Linked DNA regions of Homo sapiens: regions 1 and 2 are each linked to region 3. Evidence: promoter capture Hi-C in 16 types of primary human blood cells and fetal thymus (Javierre and others, 2016). All regions are on one chromosome and are shown on one strand. Each heading gives the region's core, a stretch centred on a gene start or on the middle of the fragment in contact. The rest is flanking DNA. Distances are from core to core; before and after follow the strand shown. Region 1 overlaps RBBP6 (RB binding protein 6, ubiquitin ligase). Region 2 overlaps RBBP6 (RB binding protein 6, ubiquitin ligase). Region 3 holds the start of LCMT1 (leucine carboxyl methyltransferase 1).

Region 1 (2,700 bases), core at 118-2,617, 560 kb before region 3:
TAATCAGAGTAATTTATTCATTCAGAAATTGGCTGTTAAATATTTATACCAAAGGAAAATTAGGTTCCTAAAAATGTATTATTGAAGATAATGTGTTAAAATTTATTAGCACAAAAATTCATAAATAGCTAATGTTAATTTTTGTTTTTATTTTGTGTTTTAGAAGTCGAACTGAACCAGCGATGGCAACTACAAAAGCAGTATGTAAAAACACAATCTCACACTTTTTCTACACATTGCTTTTACCTTTATAATGTAGCAGTGAAGTAAATCATTTTAGAACTTAATATCCAACTGATCATAGTACATATTGTAAATAAAATGTATTTTGATGACAGCTCAGTTGAATATGGATAATATGTGGCATCACTTGCACACTTATTTTGTAGAAATGGGTAATTTGTGCCCGTAACACTGTTTCATATTAAATATGATAGCATTATCCCTGTATGACACTGTGTTGTACAGTTAATGTATGATCCTTTTTAGATCGTTTAGGTTTTACACTAAGGAACATGATGACATGTTCTACATTTGTCTGTCTATAGTTAGTATTTTGTATGTATGTACAGGCTGTTGTGTGCTTTTTGTTTCTTGCAATAAAAAATGTTTGGAGTGTATATTTTGCCATTTTCACGTTGTATCACTTAGTTTTTGTTAGTTTTTTTTTTCCTGCCTGATTTATGGCTTCCAAAAACGCATTAGCAACATGCAAAGCTTATATTAAAGTTTGATGCTTTCTCCAAGTTCAAACACATCATAGAAAAGAGCTTTCCAGAGACCATTGATGCAGCTTTATTATTTAGTCTTGCTTTATTTGGCATTTTGAGCTCCTTCTTTTGTTTACATCTGTACTATAAAGTGAAACCTGAACCTGGGGCCCCCTATGAATATATAAGTGTCTTAGTGATTTTGAGTTTATATAAACTGATTATATTGTTTTCAAAGTTTAATGAGATCTTCCACTTCTATCTAGTTAGTGCAGATGTCCAAATTAAAATATTTCCCTCTTATACTAAAATGCTGCGTTAATTTTAGGCCATTGAAAGCTGTACCTTATCAGAGGTAACTCCCCTTAACCAGGATAACTGGTTTGAAGAAAGTTAAGCTTAATTTTTGTAATCACAGATTAACTTAATTTGTGATACCATTTTAACTTTGAGCTCTTAAGTAAAAAGTAGCAGCATTCCTAAGTTGTGGGGTGAAGCATCTGTTTCATAACACAGGTCTATCATAATTGGGTTCTGTAAATGTAATGGTTCTCTAAACATTTTAATGCCCAGGCTTGATATTGTACACAATGCAAGATGTCTAAAATCTTCATTTAGAATTCAAGGGTATTGCTTGCTATTTCACATTATATACTTTTTAAATACTATTGCTCTTTGTATATGAGGCATTTCACTAACCTTGGATCATTGGATCTTAAACATGATAATATAGAATATCTGAACATTGGACTTGTTCTTTAGAGTATATGGCCTTTAGTTCTTGTGGAACTAAATACAGTGATTCTAAGATCAAAAGTCTTAGTGTTTGGGGTTTTTTTTTCCTCTTTTTGGATATGGGGTGTTTTTTTTTGTTTTTTTGTTTTTTTTTTTTAAGCATAATGCTGTAAAAACTGTCCAAGCTTATGTTTTGCTGGTGATTGGTTTAAAACTGATTTTTATGTATCCAAATGCTAGCATAAATTAGATTGACTATCCTGGTGACTGTAGTAGTTAATGTAACACATTTTGTATAAAGTACAGTTTATATAGTATTTAAACTAATTCAGATGAAGTTTTATTTCTTGAAAACAGTTATTTCCTTTTTGTTTATTAGCATGTGTATAAACACAAATCACATGTTCATAAATAAAGTTAACATTCTTTTAGCCTTGTGTGTTCCGGCATGTCTGTATTACATTTATAAGAAGCAGTTTATTTAAGCTTATTTAGGTTTCTCTTTTCTTTTCTTTTTTTTTTAATACTTTAAAATTGGCTTTAATTTTTAGGTAGAATTATCTGAAATAGAGATATTAGATAACCTTGTTGTCCCCATCATTTATTTGCTTGGGGTACATTTGCTGGCATTTAAGATGAGAATATATTCATCAAGCATAATTAGTGCCCATCTTAGGAGATTTAGAGTCACGTGGATTGTACACATTCACAAAAGCAAAGTAAATAGAGGCGCTAAGCCAAATTTTTCTTATCCTGATTAGTAAAGTAAATGTATAGTTTTGGTAATGGAAGCGAACTCTAATCAAGAATGGATGGCTGTTTCCATATTCCCCAGTCTTGTTTTTAGTCATCCATCCATGTTGATACCCCAAAGCTGGATGTTCTTCTTGCTAACTAAATATCAGAGTGGTATTTTATAGGATTCTTTAACTTCAAAAAGCTAATATAATTGGCATAAAAGATTTTAGATCCTTGCTTCCCAAAACAAGACCCCTAATTAGGTACAGGGAGGTGGGTTAATTTTAATGTCTACGGTCTGCATCAGTCCGTTTTGTGAGGACTTTAAGTGGCAGACTTTTTTTTACCATTAGTATCTTACCAAGAGTCACTATTTTTATTGATGTTTAGTAATACAAATTCCTAATCATTTTTAAACCATTCTTTGTCAACATTTTTTGCTCATTTCTGAACACCTTGCTATATGTAGGAAACATTTGTTTGCTTTTCTAAATTTGAGGTAAATTTGACTTCTTTG
Region 2 (2,700 bases), core at 157-2,656, 540 kb before region 3:
TAGGAAGTAACAGGTAGTAATTAGTGGAGTGATAATCAGTCTGAACTTCATAAAAGAGAACTTTTAAATACAATATTTCCGTGTAGAGAAGGTCCTATAAACTTGCATCATCTCAGTCGAGACATGGCCTTAAAAATTATGTTGTAGAGTTATTTTTACAAATAAATTGTACTAATGTTGCTACACTAGTTGAATAGTTGGTTCTATTCCACTGTTTTTAAGTTTGAAAATAATTATGGATAGAAGAGATAAGCTTACTTGTCTCAGATGACTTTAGTTTGAAGAAGTAATATCTTGGAATTTATTTTTCCAGAAGTATAAACCGTGGGCGACACCACAGCGAAAGATCACAGAGGACTCAAGGCCCGTCACTACCAGCAACTCCAGTCTTTGTACCTGTTCCACCACCTCCTTTGTATCCGCCTCCTCCCCATACACTTCCTCTCCCTCCGGGTGTTCCTCCTCCACAGTTTTCTCCTCAGTTTCCTCCTGGCCAGCCACCACCCGCTGGGTATAGTGTCCCTCCTCCAGGGTTTCCTCCAGCTCCTGCCAATTTATCAACACCTTGGGTATCATCAGGAGTGCAGACAGCTCATTCAAATACCATCCCAACAACACAAGCACCACCTTTGTCCAGGGAAGAATTCTATAGAGAGCAGCGACGACTAAAAGAAGAGTATGTATTCTAATTTGAAATTATTATACACTTTTTTCATTTTCTGATAATAACATTAAATAGGTGTCTGGAAACGTTTTCCAGTGTTTCCAGTTAGTATGAGAAATTCACCTAAAATTTAAACCAAAGCCATACAAGCAACTTCTCAGGGATTCCTAGTTTATAGTTTTAAAGTGGAAAACTAATGGCAATTTCATTCATTTCATTCATGATCTAATTACATTTGTCTTGTTAGTTTTCTTAAATGGTTTTTGTTAACTTTCACTCTTTAACTTTATTTTACTAGGGAAAAGAAAAAGTCCAAGCTAGATGAGTTTACAAATGATTTTGCTAAGGAATTGATGGAATACAAAAAGATTCAAAAGGAGCGTAGGCGCTCATTTTCCAGGTTAGTGTTTTGCAAGCCTTCACAACAGAATTACAAACGGGACTTTGAATATCCAGGGATTAGCTATGGATATAAAGAACATTGCACTTAGGAATTTTTCTGATTCGGTCTAGGTGTATAGAAGTGAAGATGTAGCTTATTTCCCAATATCTGTTCATTGAAATAATGTCTCAGTGTAAATTTTATTGTGTAGAACTAACAGTTGTGGGGATTAAATTGCCCTTGTCCCTTAAAGTTATTCATAGTATCAAATAATTGGGAAATGTTTTTGGAAGGAAAGAAATAGGGGAATAGCCAAAAAACAGTTCCCAGGACCCTTTTACCATAAGGCTACAGCTTCTTGCTGGAACATTAACCTGCGTAATTATGAAGTAGTAGTAGAATACAGATCGCTTTATTGATAGAAAAAGTGAATTATAAAAATTCCCTGGAAGTTTGTTTAAAAGACTTTATTTTTTAGCCTTACACTTGAAATGTGGTTTCTTTTAAAACTAGGCTGTTGGCCAGTATAGGACAAAAAACAGACTCCTACTTCAATATTCAGATAGGAAGTGAAATTTAAAATTAATTGACATTTTGTTTAATGTTAGTTAGCTCATATAACTCACGGTACATTAATGCACTTCACTCTAATTGTTAAGACTTCACTTTTGTTTTGTAACAAGTGATTGCTCCGATTTGTGTACTTTATTCCATTCCAGTAGAGGTCACTGTGCCTCTTTAATCATCTAAGATGAAATTTGATATAAAGATAGATGAAACCGTGAGGAAAGAATGCTAGAATCTGAGAGTCTGTGTTTTATTTTGTATGTATTTCTCAACTATCAACTATTGTTTTGTTTTGTTTTTAGGTCTAAATCTCCCTATAGTGGTTCTTCGTATTCAAGAAGTTCATATACTTATTCTAAATCAAGATCTGGTTCAACACGTTCACGCTCTTATTCTCGATCATTCAGCCGCTCACATTCTCGTTCCTATTCACGGTCACCTCCATACCCCAGAAGAGGCAGAGGCAAGAGCCGCAATTACCGTTCACGGTCTAGATCTCATGGATATCATCGATCTAGGTCAAGGTCACCCCCTTACAGACGCTATCATTCACGATCAAGATCTCCTCAAGCGTTTAGGGGACAGTCTCCTAATAAACGTAATGTACCTCAAGGGGAAACAGAACGTGAATATTTTAATAGATACAGAGAAGTTCCACCACCATATGACATGAAAGCATATTATGGGAGAAGTGTTGACTTTAGAGACCCATTTGAAAAAGAACGCTACCGAGAATGGGAGAGAAAATATAGAGAGTGGTATGAAAAATATTATAAAGGTTATGCTGCTGGAGCACAGCCTAGACCCTCAGCAAATAGAGAGAACTTTTCTCCAGAGAGATTTTTGCCACTTAACATCAGGAATTCTCCCTTCACAAGAGGCCGCAGAGAAGACTATGTTGGTGGGCAAAGTCATAGAAGTCGAAACATAGGTAGCAACTATCCAGAAAAGCTTTCAGCAAGAGATGGTCACAATCAGAAGGATAATACAAAGTCAAAAGAGAAGGAGAGTGAAAACGCTCCAGGAGATGGTAAAGGAAATAAGCATAAGAAACACAGAAAAAGAAGAAAAGGGGAGGAAAGTGAGG
Region 3 (2,973 bases), core at 4-2,503:
ATTTATACATATATTTTGTACTAGATTTAGTACAAAATAAATCCAAAACATCTTGAATATGCCTCATAATGAAACAGACACACGTGAACCCACTCCCACGTGAGAAACTGAGGATGTGTCTATGTGCTCCTTCCCTGCCTCTCCCTCCCCCTCTTGTGTGCTACCCTCCCGGCTCCCTAAAGATCACCAATATCCTGATTCTTTTTTATTTTTTTTTCTCATGTCTTGCCTTCTCTGTACAGTATTTTACCATATATGTACGTTTCTCTAAACAACATTAGTTTTACTTGGTTTGAACTTTACAAAAGTGTTGTTAGACTTCCTTCTTTCACTGAACATCGTGTTTCTGAGATTCAGCCATTGATGCTGCTACCTGGTAGCTCTAGTTCATTTATGATCGCTGCTACATGGCTTCCTATTGTATTACTTTTCCACACACTACTTCCCTCACTACATTTCTTTTCTTTCTTTCTTTTATTTATTTGTTTATTTATTTTTTTGAGACGGAGTCTCGCTCTGTCGCTCAGGACGGAATGCAGTGGCGCCACATGGGCTTACTGCAACCTCCGCCTCCCGGGTTCAAGCGATTCTCCTGCCTCAGCCTCCTGAGTAGCCAGGACTAAGGCGGCCGCCACCACGCCCGGCTAATTTTTGTACTTTTAGTAACAACGGTGTTTCACCATGTTGGCCAGGCTGGTCTCGAACTCCTGACCTCAGGTGATCGGCCCGCCTCGGCTTCCCACAGTGGTGGGATTACAGGAGTGAGCCACTACGCCCGCCCCCCTCACTACATTTCGAAGGCAATTTTGGGGGCAAAGCCCTCAGCACAGTCGCTGGCAGAGTCAGCACACAACAAAATTTTGTAAAATTGAATGACACTGAGCCCGGACTGAATGTAACAACTTACACATGTTGCTTCTGGCTGGATTCTCTGCCCTTTGCCCGAACGCTGAGGATTCTGCTAGCTGTTCCGCCCTGAGTTAATTATAGCTATAAAATTTCGCGACCAGCAAGCAGAAACCGGGCGACTTCTCCAGACACCTAAGACTACGCTTCCCAGAAAGGATTGCGATACTCTCCTACTGTTTAGTTTCTTTTTCCTATCGTCAAATTTCCGGGTTATGTGGGCGGTGCCAAAATAATTATCCAATGAGCAACTTCGTAGGCTGAGCGGGCAGGAGAATTGCTCAATGAGCGACTCGGAAGAGGAGCCAATAAGCGGAGAGGTTGCTGGGGTAGCCGGCGTGGGCGGCGTCACTGAGCCGCGCCAGCTGAGCCAGGTAGGGCCCTACCCTCTTCTGTTGCTTTCTCCCTGTGGCTCGCGCCGTCCCCCGCCGCCCGTCGACCCCGCTTCCATGTCCCTGGCGGACACAGCTCCCAGGAACCTCCACGCCCATGGCCACTAGGCAGAGGGAATCCTCTATCACCTCCTGCTGTTCCACCTCGAGCTGCGACGCAGACGACGAGGGCGTGCGCGGCACCTGCGAAGATGCTTCCCTGTGCAAGAGGTGCCTGTCGGGCGCGGGGTTCGGGGCCGGCATCTGGGGCGCGGGCCTAGGTGGGAGGTGGGCCTGCATCTGAAGAATACGCTCAAGGCTGGCAGGGATGCAGCCCCCGCCTCGCACGACCCTCGCTTCCCACCTGTGAAGTGCACGGAGCAGGGCTTCATTTATTTAACGAATCGTTTCTGAGCTTTTGCTGTGAGCCAGGCAGGGGGCCAGCCTGGGTATCGTCGATGGGAGCAGGCCCCTGAGCCAGACAGACGAGGCCTTGGGCTTCTTGGAGCTAAACGCTGCTGGAAAGACAGACATGAAGCAAATAGTAGCTCCAGCCTCGATGGGTTACGAGGATGAGAGGTGTAGGTTCTCTCTCTTTTGTAGGTTGCATTCTTTAGGGGGTTGGTGTGATCCCTGTTGTGCACCTGAAACTCAGGATGACGAGGGGAAATAACCCACCCAGAGCCAAGTAATATCTCTTTGCAGAGCCAGTACCGCACTAAGTCTCCACTGTTAAGGGTGTGGTGGTGGGGATGGGGGCGTAGCCAGCAGAGGTACGTGTCAGAGAAAGAGAAAGCTTGAGGCTTGAATGTCCACCATTTATTCTTTCATTCAACAAAATTTTTTGAGACCTTACTTTGTGCCAGGCCTTTACTTTGCAGTGGTTAGTAGGAATTCGATGGTGGAAATACACCAAGAACAAGACAGACATGGTGTCAGACATACTGGAACTCACAGCTTTGTTGGAAAAGAGAGACAGGAAGCAAATAATTACCTATGAAATATATAATTATGATTTTTTTGTGTTGAGTGCTGACAAATACGGCAGTGCCATTAGAGTTTGTAATTTTGTCAGTGATGTTTAAGGTGAGAAGAGTTTGGGCGCGGTGGTTCACGCCTGTAATCCCAGCACTTTGGGAGGCCGAGGTGGGCAGATCACGAGGTCAGGAGTTCGAGACCATCCTGGCCAACATGGTGAAACCCCATCTCTACTAAAAATACAAATATTAGCTGGGTGTGGTGGCGGGCGCCTGTAATCCCAGCTACTCGGGAGGCTGAGGCCGGAGAATCATTTGAACCCGGGAGGCAGAGGTTGCAGTGAGCCAAGATCACGCTATTGCACTCCAACCTGGATGAGAGTGCGAGACTATGTCTCAAAAAAAAAAAAAAAAAAAAGTGAGAAGAAAAGGCTTGAAAAATAGGAAAGTTGTAGGAGAGTGTTCAGAGGAGTGTGAACTGTTAGAGGAACTCAAAAAATGCTTTAAAGGTGGGAGAAGGAGGCTGAGGCCACGTAGTGATTGTAGAGTGGGGAAAACCAGTGTGTTGGATTAAACCTTGCACTTTTTATAGGTTCTTGGGGACTAAACTTTCAGAGCATGGATTCTGGAGCTAGACTCTGTCAAACTGAGCGTTGCCACTTACTGGCAGTATAAAGTCGGGGAAATTACTAAACTTTTCTGTGGCTCAGTTTCCTGAT

Evidence for each region. Contacts are between HindIII fragments. The CHiCAGO score rates a contact against its expected background, and 5 or more counts as called.
Region 1: a fragment that was not itself captured here is called in contact with the fragment with the promoter of LCMT1 in region 3 in 1 of 17 cell types (naive CD4 T cells); the score reaches 5.6 in naive CD4 T cells.
Region 2: a fragment that was not itself captured here is called in contact with the fragment with the promoter of LCMT1 in region 3 in 1 of 17 cell types (endothelial precursors); the score reaches 5.1 in endothelial precursors.

Annotation. Positions count from the first base shown.
Region 1 is chr16:24,548,782-24,551,481 of GRCh38, forward strand. RBBP6 (RB binding protein 6, ubiquitin ligase) reads left to right here. Exons shown (of 18, transcript NM_006910.5): 3 at 164-200. Among named protein-coding and RNA genes, the nearest start is that of RBBP6, 11 kb to the left of the region's middle. The HindIII fragment of the contact is 522 bases long and covers 1,107-1,628 here.
Region 2 is chr16:24,566,830-24,569,529 of GRCh38, forward strand. RBBP6 (RB binding protein 6, ubiquitin ligase) reads left to right here. Exons shown (of 18, transcript NM_006910.5): 15 at 314-676; 16 at 963-1,064; 17 at 1,916-2,700. Among named protein-coding and RNA genes, the nearest start is that of RBBP6, 29 kb to the left of the region's middle. The HindIII fragment of the contact is 2,311 bases long and covers 252-2,562 here.
Region 3 is chr16:25,110,489-25,113,461 of GRCh38, forward strand. It overlaps LCMT1 (leucine carboxyl methyltransferase 1), which reads left to right and starts at 1,254. Exons shown (of 11, transcript NM_016309.3): 1 at 1,254-1,508. The coding sequence starts at 1,396. It overlaps LCMT1-AS1 (LCMT1 antisense RNA 1), which reads right to left and starts at 1,067. Exons shown (of 3, transcript NR_120306.1): 1 at 908-1,067. RefSeq lists enhancers at 677-1,204, 982-1,311, 1,402-1,561. The HindIII fragment of the contact is 2,890 bases long and covers 1-2,071 here.